3 separate regions of the Homo sapiens genome follow, and all the other regions are linked to region 1. Evidence: promoter capture Hi-C in 16 types of primary human blood cells and fetal thymus (Javierre and others, 2016). All regions are on one chromosome and are shown on one strand. The core of a region is centred on a gene start or on the middle of the fragment in contact, and the rest is flanking DNA. Distances in the headings are between cores, read along the strand shown. Region 1 holds the start of HTR2A-AS1 (HTR2A antisense RNA 1). Region 2 has its middle 150 kb from the start of LINC00562. Region 3 has its middle 170 kb from the start of LINC00562.

Region 1 (3,277 bases), core at 402-2,901:
AGATGTTTTAGATGGAGGAGAGCTGAGAGTGACAGCTGAGAGTCGTAGATGCTGCCTTGGAAGAGTGTCCACGCTACCCTGGACAGGGGCCTGCCTGCCCACCCAGTGACCATGGCAGGGCAGAGAAAAAGCAATGTCAGCCCAGTATCTTCTCCAGCCAGTGGGGTGGCTTCAGGAGAGGGCTGGGACTGGGGATCTCAACCTTAGCAGCACATTAGAATCATCTGGGGAGGTTTAAAACAGCCTGATACACTTGGCCTCACCTGGAATGCACAAAATCAGAATCTCTATGGATTCAATTCACTATCAGTATTTAAGGCTGCCAGGTGATTCCAGTGTGCTGCCAACAACCACTGAGAGCACACAGCAAGGGAAGAGAGCAACCTGCTGGCTTCTGAGCTCTTTCTCCTCCCAGCCCAAGGGTTAGGGGATTGGGAGTCAGAGAAGTGGCCCAGGCAGATGAGTATGGAGGTGTCCAGCAAGATGTGGACAGATGGAGGATCTGGGAGCCCACATTTCAATGCTAGAGGCCATCTGCCCTAAGGTCCACCTTCCCCTTCTTCCTAATCAAGATCACCAGGAGGCGCACAGGCTGTAACCCCTTCTCCTGGTGTACGATATTAATCACGGCATCTTATATCCCCTGAAGGGGATATAAAGTCACAAGAAAAAATTTCTAGGCATATGAGAAGCACAAACTCTATAAGATACTGACAACAAGCAGACCAACTTTTACCTAACAATTCAGAATAATGCACTATATTAAGGAGAAAAAGAAAAATCAGATAAGAATTACCAGGAACTTTATAGGAAAAAAAAAAGCCCTAGAACTATTATAGGACAGACAAGACCTAAGTAGATAAAAATATAACATGTTCAAATTATTGAGATAACTTACCTTTGTTAACTGTAGAACTAAGGTGTTCATTTTCCACCAGATTATCTACAGTTTCAACAGTTTTAATCCAAAAGTTAAAATTTTTTGAGGAGCATGACTAAGTGATTTTAAAATGTTTATGGGAAAACAAAAGTTCATTACACCCATAGCTTGTATGTGGACAGGCCAAGGAAAGAAATCAGGGCTTCTGTCTCCCAGTCTGGTGCTAATTTCACCCCACCTGTCTACAGCCGTGAACTGCATTTTAACAGCACATAAAGAAATATACTGCATGCAATGCCGCTCCTCATATCATAGAACAATTATCTTAATCATAGGAAAGCTTAGAAGTTAACACATCAGTCTGAATGGCATCATAGCTCATCGTTTGTCCCTTTGACAAAGAACTTTTGTAGCGAATGCCACTCCAAACACACAGGGGCTAAGGCAAGGCTGTTACCGCAGTGGGAAGAGGGTAGCACTCTGTGTAAGCAGACGTGGCCAGCCCAGCCGAGAGAGCCCCCCTTTGCTGACTACCTCCAAGAACGTGGACACCTACAGTGCCGCCCAAGCGCCAGAGCGAGTCCCGGCAATGTGTGCCAGCTCCTTAGTGCTGCTGTAGCAATGACTACAAACTGAAATGACACCTCTGCTGTTGGCTTAAAACAACACAAATTTATTACTTACAGTTTTGGAAGTGAAAAGTCCAAAGTTGGTCTCACCAGGCCAAAACCAAGGTGTCAGTAGGGCTGCGTTCTTTCTGGAGGCACTAGGGAAAAAATATGTCACTGGCCCCTCCAGCTTCTAGAAACCACCTACACTCCTTGGCCCACGGTCCTTTTCCTGTTATCTTCCAAGGTAGCCAGTACAGATTGAATCCTGCTCTTATTGAATCACTTTGACCCAACACACCTTCCTCCCTCTTCCACTTTTAAGGAAATCTGTGATTACATTGGGCCCACCTGGATAATCCAGGGCACTCTAATTATTTCCAGCTCAGCTGATTGACATCTTTAATTCCCATCTGCAACTTTAGTTTATCCTTGCCATATAACACAACATATTCACAGCATCCAGGAGTTAGGCGTAGGCATCTTTGGGGACCATTATTCTGCTGATTACAAAATGCATCAGATTCAAACATTTAGCAGGCTAGAGCTAACACCTTCCTTATTACTATCACAAAATGTAGAAAAGCGGTGAATATATCATCGGGAAGTTTGCAGCTTATTTGGCTGGATCCACAACTGCCTTTCATGCCCAGAATGTTGCTAAAAGGAGAGTCTCTCTCCCAGTTACTCTACATCCATCCTGCCCTTGTAAAGCCACCTGGAAAACTGAAGCAATTTTTCAGAAATCCCTGTTTCCATTATATAAATATTCCGTGCGAAAGTGTTCTTTTGGTCTGACTTATTCTAATAAATGCTCCCATTTAACATGCATATGTGTAATCCAGCAAATTAACTTCTCCACAGGATATTAAAGTTAGTGTGTTTTGTGCTGTATGTATCTGTGCATGTACTATGTTTGAACCAGAATATACAATGTATCAAGGAGCTCATTCTTTATCTTTTTCCTGCATTTTCTTATAAACTATTTGGCTGATTAGATTTTTACTGTGACTTTTGTTTCTTATGTCTTTTAAAATTAGAAATTACTGCCATATTCTCTAGAAAAGTACTATCCAGAAGAAATAGAACTATGAAGATATGAAACTGGTTTTACTAGGAAACACACATATACACAGACACATACACACAAGACATAGTGTTTGTACACCCAGGCTCAGTGATTCAGAATCTTTTTTGTGTTGCAGAGTATTGGGATAATTACCTCTTTCCTGAAAAATGTACGTAGTCACATGAACATGAACTTTTGCACTCCTTTTCAAAGGGTTTCTGCCCCATCCTCACCCCCACCCCAGAAATCATCTATAGGTTAATTTGGAGGAAAAACATTCAACATCAGCACAGGTACGGGACACCAATTAGCTGGGAACCATGGAAAGAAAATAAGCATTGTAAGAAATAGCAGAGAAAATTGTAATTTCAAAAAATGTTGATCTTGGCATTGTGCATTAAAGACTTGCAGTAAAACATAACTGGTCCTTAGCATTAAGTTCTTAAAAGATGGTTTCTATAGCCAGTCTTCCCATAGATAGCATGTAAATGGCTCTAAATGAGAAACGTATAGCCCCTGCAACACAAGCACAGATAAAAGGAGGCCTGTCCCCACAGAAAGATTTCATAGGTAGGACACTGCATGAATTCCAGGCTCCGGATCTAAGAGCCAGCCTTGAGCAGCAATGAAGCAGCAACTCTTCAAGCAGCAACTTTTCTGAAGTGAGGAAGTTTGATCCCCAAGCCTGCATACCTGATGGCGAAAGTGTGCTGAGGCTAC
Region 2 (3,277 bases), core at 215-2,714, 930 kb before region 1:
CCCAACCCCCAGGCCATGGACCAGTACTGTCTGTGGCCTGTTAGGAACTGGGCCACACAGAAGGAGTGAGTGGTGGGTGAGCGAGCATTACTGCCTGAGCTCTGCCTCCTGTCAGATCAGCTGCAGCATTATATTCTCATAGGAGTGTGAACCCTGCTGTGAACTGCGCATGTGAGGGATCTAGGTTTTGTGTTCCTTATGAGAATCTAATGTCTGATGATCTGAGGTAGAATAGTTTCATCCTGAACCTAACGACCACCACAGTCCATAGAAAAATTATCTTCCATGAAACCAGTCCCTGATGCCAAAAAGTTTGGGGACCACTGCTTTAGAGGACTACATAAGGATAATGATATTAATAGCCACTATGTATAAGCTAAACACCCCACACAAACATATACATCATCTACTATGCTCATCCAATCCTGATCACTGAGAAGAAGATTGCATTTCAAAGGTGTTAATTAACCCAAGGGTACTTGCTGTGGTGAGGCTTGGCTTCAAATCTGGTTCTCATGGTCTCCAAAGAATGAGTTCCATCAATACCTACTTTATTGAGAGTTTTTAGTATGAAGGGGTGTTGAATTTTATCGAAGGCCTTTTCTGCATCTATTGAGGTAATTGTGTGGTTTTTGTCATTGGTTCTGTTTATGTGATGGATTATGTTTATTGATTTGTGTATGTTGAACCAGCCTTGCATCCCAGGGATGAAGCTGACTTGATTGTGGTGGATAAGCTTTTTGATGTGCTGCTGGATTTGGTTTGCCAGTATTTTATTGAGGATTTTCACATCAATGCTCATCAGGGATATTGGCCTGAATTTTTCTTTTTTTGTTGTCGGTGTAAATTAGTTTGACAATTGTGGAAGACAGTGTGGTGATTCCTCAAGGATCTAGAACCAGAAATACCATTTGGCCCAACAATCCCATTACTGGATATATACCCAAAGGATTATAAATCATTCTACTATAAAGACACATGCACACGTATGTTTATTGCAGCATTGTTCACAACAGCAAAGATTTGGAACCAACCCAAATGTCCATCAATGATAGACTGGATAAAGAAAATGTGGCACATATACACCATGGAGTACTATGCAGCCATAAAAAAGAATGAGTTCATGTCCTTTGCAGGGATATGGATGAAGCTGGGAACCATCATTCTCAGCAAACTAATGCAAGAACAGAAAACCAAACACCACCTGTTCTCACTCATAAGTAAGAGTTGAACAATGAGAACACATGGACACAGGGAGGGGAACATCACACACGGGTTGGGTGGGGGTGGCTAGGGGAGGGGTAGCATTAGGAGAAATACCTAATGTAGATGACGGGTTGATGGGTGCAGCAAACTGCCATGGCACGTGTATACCTATGTAACAAACCTGCACGTTCTGCACATGAATCCCAAAACCTAAAGTATAATTTAAAAAAAAGTTAAAAAAAAAAAAGAATGAGTTCAGGAGATCCCTCTATGACCACACTGTCTCCCTTCCTTACTACTCAATTGATGCCTCCTTTAAGAAGGTAAATGCTTTTATCCAATTTATAGAACTGTTTGAACTTGATGGATATAAATGTAAATGTTTGAATGTTTTTCTCCAATGCCTTTTTCACCTGTGCTTTGTTCAGGCTTCTTTCTCCAGCCATAAATGACATTTTGGGTAGCACCATAGCCCTCAGATCACTTTCAGTTATTCTGTTAATGCAGTCTGTGGGAGGCAGCTTCTGGAATGACCCTCATGTTGGAGAGGCCCATATGGCAGGGAACTCAGGGTCACCTCTGGCCAACAGGAAGGGAGATACTGAGGCCCTCAGTCTAAGAGCTCATAAGTAATGGAATCCTGCCAACAACCACATGAATGAGCTTGGAAGTGGATTCTTCCCAGTGGAGCCCTGAGATTACTGTAACCCCAGCTAGCATCCTGATTGCAGCCTGAAGCAGAACACCCAGCTAAGTTGTACCCAGATTCCTGACCCATAGAAACAGAGTAAATGTGTGTGGTTTTAAGCCACTACATCTCTTATAAGAGACCAAACTGTGTTAGTCCATTCTGGTATTGCTATAAAGAAATACCTGAGGCTGGGTAATTTATAAGAAAGAAGAGTTTGTTTTGGATCATGGTTCTGCAGGCTGTACAGGAAGTGTGGTGCCAGCATCTGCTCCTGGTGATAACCTCAGGAAGCTTCCAATTATGGTGGAAGGAGAAGGGGAACCAGTATGTCATATAGTGACAGAGGGAACAAGAGGGAGAGAAAGGAGAGGTCCCAGACTTTTAGACAACTAGATCTTTCTAGAACTAACAGCAAGAACTTACTTATCCCCAAGGGGATGGAGCTAAACTATTCATGAGGGATCCACCCCTATGATCCAGTCACCTCCCACCAGGCCCTACCTCCAACACTGGGAATCACATTTCAACATGAGATTTGGAAGGGACAAACATCCAACCTATATCAATAATGAATGTACTGACCCAGCTTAAAATTTCAACTGGACATCCAATTTAATGATTATTTTCTATCATCCTCCTTTCCCCTTTCTGTCTGTGGTCAGGAGACTTGCAGAACCTGCCCTTTCATTTCTTCCTCCACCTCTGCTCTTTTGGGTTTCTGTCTCCTTTGGTAGGAGCTGTGGAGGGATATGGAAAGACACAGTGTTTCTTGTCTGACATCTTCATCATTTTTCTGCTGTTACTTTGCTTCTCTGGCTTTGAGTAAATGTCTCTTGGACAAGCATTCCCCTCTTTCAGGACATATGTGTGAGTGGGTTCTTTGTAGAACGCTTTGGAGCTTCCCCGCAGGTTCCTGATCTTTTCTGATTCCTCTATAGAGTCTTCATCCCAGACAATCCACTCTACAGGTTCTCATTGTTGGGATCCACCTGCCAGCAGGATCTTGCGTGGGCATCTGCAAGCTGGCTCAAGTCCAGCTACCTTCAATTTTGTCCATTTTCCGCTGTTCATCTGCCTCCAGCTCTTTCTGCTTTGCTGTTCCTCCCAATTCCAATGGCTGGGTTGAGCAAATAAAACACAGGACACCCAGCTGAATTTGCACTAGATCTTAGCCAAAGGGCCAAGAAGTGATTGATGTCCAGTTAAACTTGAATTTCAGATAAACAATGCATATTTTTTAGTATAAGTAAGTTCCATACATCGTATAATTTATCTGGCAACCCTGTCCCCATGCTCTTGCATTTTTCTCAAATAGACACACAGAGAGATCAGCAAGGCCACTGCCCAGTGAGAGAATAAAATGCTAGTATCACTTCTGGT
Region 3 (3,277 bases), core at 232-2,731, 910 kb before region 1:
CCAGTTGGAGAAGAAACCAGGTTTCTATCCACTCTATGCTATTTTAAAATTTGGTTTACAGCAGAGAGAAGGATGTCTGCTTACTCTTACAAGAAGGACTCTATCTACACAGAAGGGTACTTCCTGAGCCTATATAAAGGTTTCTCAATATGTTAGGTGCTAAGCAGAGAGGTGGAGCCTGTGAAATATAGCTTTTATAAAACAAAGGGACTAAGAAGCCCATTTGGAGGAATTCTTTGGCCCAAACTGCAGAGCCATAGGAAAATTGAAGTCATTCTTTAATTATGGAAGCCCTATTTAGGGGTTTTCAATGTGTGGTCAGAGCTTATATCAGAATCATCAGGGAGAAGTTATTTAAAATGCTGATTCCTGGTCAACTCTTTGCCAGCTGAATTAGAATCTCTAGGGTTGGGGCTAGGAAAATCTATGTTGTAAACTAATTTCCCTTATAATTCTTCTAAGTCACTAAATAATGAGTGCTCTAGGGGCCGTCCTTTAAATTTTATACTCTAAACTTGAAGAAAACACTCTCTGTTTGTTATATTGATAATTTTAATGTTATTTTTGGCTTAAATAGTGTGGTAGGCAGAATTCTAAGATGATGCCCAATGACTCACCCCTTGTAAAACTCTTTTTCTTGACTATGGGTAGATCCTGTAGCTTGTGTCTAATCAGTAGACCATAGCAAAAATGATGGAATATTACTTTTTGGATTATGTTACCTTATATAGCAAAGGTAAAGGAATTTTACAGATGTAATTAAACCCCCTAATTAGTTCACTTTAGGTTAACCAAAAGGGAAATTACTTTGGTAGGCCTGACCTAATCAGTTGAGCCTTTTAGACGAGGGTCTAGAGGTAGAGAGAAAAGAAGCAGAGATGTCTTCCTGCTGGCTTTAAGGAAACAAACTGCCACATTGTGGAGAGGGTCATACGGCAGGGAACATGTGCAGCCTCTAGGAGAGAGAGATCCTCAGTCCTACAATCCTAAGACTTGGATCCTGTCAGTAACCAGTGAGCTTGGAAGAGGAGCTCAGCCTCAGATTGCAGCACCAGCTGACATCTTGAGGCAGCCATGTGTGACCCTGAGCTGAAGACCCAGTGAAGATGTGCTGGGATTGTGTGTACTTAGACCCATGGAAACTGTGAAGTAATAAATGTATATTTTCTTCTGCTGATGTTTGTTATACAGTAATAGAAAATTCATGCACATAGTAGAGAATAAAATGTCTTATTTTTCAAGAATTGTGAATTACATATAATCTTCCCAGTTGCTTTGACATCTATAGCAACATTGGGGTCCTGGTACCTGTTGGGGAATAGGAAATCTTTCCAAAAGCTACATGGGAAAAAATTGTTTTAAGAGCATCAGTTTACATATGTTCAACATCCATACATACTCTTTTCTGTGATCTATTGTCTTGGAAAGGAGCCTGCAATTCAGGAAGCCACGTGCATCCTTCTTTTCTGCCTTTGTTTTCACTTTCCAAAAGAAAGGCATAAATTCACACCTCTGAAATCTTACCACAGTGAATAGTTCAGGGGTATAAAAATCTCCAATCCAATGAAAAATATCAGTTATGATGATGATTTCACTGATTAAAGGATTTTATGACTTTCTCTGTCTTTTACATATTTCTGTGGGGTGAAAACTGTGGCATTAGAAATGGTATTTCAGCTTCTGTGGCAATGCTCCAAACTCAAATATATTGTAAAGTAGGGTAGCAGAAGAGATGACATTTTCTTATATCCCCTACTTGTCAATGACTGCAATACTTCCCAGGGAGAGGCACATGAGAGGAGAGAGAAGGGAATATGCTCCATTCTCTCTTCACTTCAGGATGCAGTCACAGAGCAGCTCCTACCTGGTATGTGGCAGTGCTCACAACAGAAGGAAGAGACATAGCAGTAAAACGTGGTTGCTCCTAAAGATGCTTGGAAATATTGAAGATCAGAGAAGCCTTATTTTGTCCAGGTAGCAACTTCATGGAAAAGGTCTGTTTCAATATATATATCTATGTTAGAATTCAGAAGTGAGATGCTTGTTACAAGAACATGTGTTAACAGTTACTTAGATTGAAAAACGAGGACAGACTTTTTCTAATAGAAAGCAAATCCAATTTGACTGATTGATTTTGTAATGACAACTGGCTTTGCGTGGTGGATACCTCCACAAGTTGACAGAGCTGAGTCTGCAGTTATGAGGTTTGGATGCATATATTGAATGATCAGATAAAAATATGTTATCAGCTGGGTGTGGTGGCTCACACCTGTAATCCTAGCACTTTGGGAGGCCGAGGCGGGCAGATCACCTGAGATCAGGAGTTTGAGACCAGCCTGGCTAACATTGTGAAACCCCGTTTCTACTAAAAATACAAAAAATTAGCCAGGTGCGGTGGCTCGTGCCTGTAATCCAAGCTACTTGGGAGGCTAAAGCAGGAGAATTGCTTGAACCCGGGAGGTGGAGGTTGCAGTGAGCCGAGATCATGCCATTGCACTCCAGCTTGGACAACAAGAGTGAAACTCTGTCTCAAAAAAAAAAAAAAGTTATCAAAAATATTTTTTGTAAGGAGTACTATAATTAACAATATTTTCATTTTCCAAATTCATTCTATATTAGATTACACAAAATGTTTTCACGTAGAGTAGCAGGTATATATATTTGTTGATAAGCCTCAGTAAAGCCATTTAAAAAATAATTCTCAGAAATTAAGTGAATGAGTATAGTGACGAGATAATGAATAATTTTAAAACTCAGTTATTTACAATTCTTAGGTTTTGACAAAATTAAAGGAGAATCTAATTGAGTTGTCAGCCAATAAAACATTAAAATAATTTTTGACAGATTGCAATATAATTTTTGGCATTTAAGTCAGAAGCAAAATTTTTTTCATTCTAATTTACTTACCTATGTGAAGAATTTTTTAATTGCTTACATCTATAAAAATGAAAAAAGAGTAATGGATTTGATTTTGAAAGAGTTTGAATAGGTGACTAATAATATCAGAATTTGACTTTGTGGGGAAAGTAAATTGAAAAATATAAGTTCTGGAGCAAAAAGGAATGATGTAAATTTTCTAACTATCAAAGAAAACTTATTTATGTCATTTTAAACCATATGATAGCTTGTCTTATGACTAGATATTTTACCCAATTTGGCATGTTTGAAAGAATGATGGAATAGTTTTATTTAAATGGTTGATTTTTACAATGTGCTGCAAATGACAACTTTTGAACATTTTAAGGCATAAAATGGAAAGTTTTAGCTGTTCACTTTA

The links. Contacts are between HindIII fragments. The CHiCAGO score rates a contact against its expected background, and 5 or more counts as called.
Region 2: a fragment that was not itself captured here is called in contact with the fragment with the promoter of HTR2A-AS1 in region 1 in 2 of 17 cell types (naive B cells and M0 macrophages); the score reaches 6.2 in naive B cells.
Region 3: a contact is called between a fragment that was not itself captured here and the fragment with the promoter of HTR2A-AS1 in region 1, in 2 of 17 cell types (naive B cells and M0 macrophages). The highest score is 7.3, in naive B cells.

The regions. Positions count from the first base shown.
Region 1 is chr13:46,850,514-46,853,790 of GRCh38, reverse strand. HTR2A-AS1 (HTR2A antisense RNA 1) reads right to left here and starts at 1,651. Exons shown (of 2, transcript NR_103752.1): 1 at 1,565-1,651. The region is part of intron 3 of HTR2A (5-hydroxytryptamine receptor 2A); the gene reads left to right. The HindIII fragment of the contact is 4,589 bases long and covers 1,223-3,277 here.
Region 2 is chr13:47,776,606-47,779,882 of GRCh38, reverse strand. No RefSeq gene overlaps it. Among named protein-coding and RNA genes, the nearest start is that of LINC00562, 150 kb to the left of the region's middle. The HindIII fragment of the contact is 1,452 bases long and covers 739-2,190 here.
Region 3 is chr13:47,758,599-47,761,875 of GRCh38, reverse strand. No RefSeq gene overlaps it. Among named protein-coding and RNA genes, the nearest start is that of LINC00562, 170 kb to the left of the region's middle. The HindIII fragment of the contact is 4,143 bases long and covers 1-3,277 here.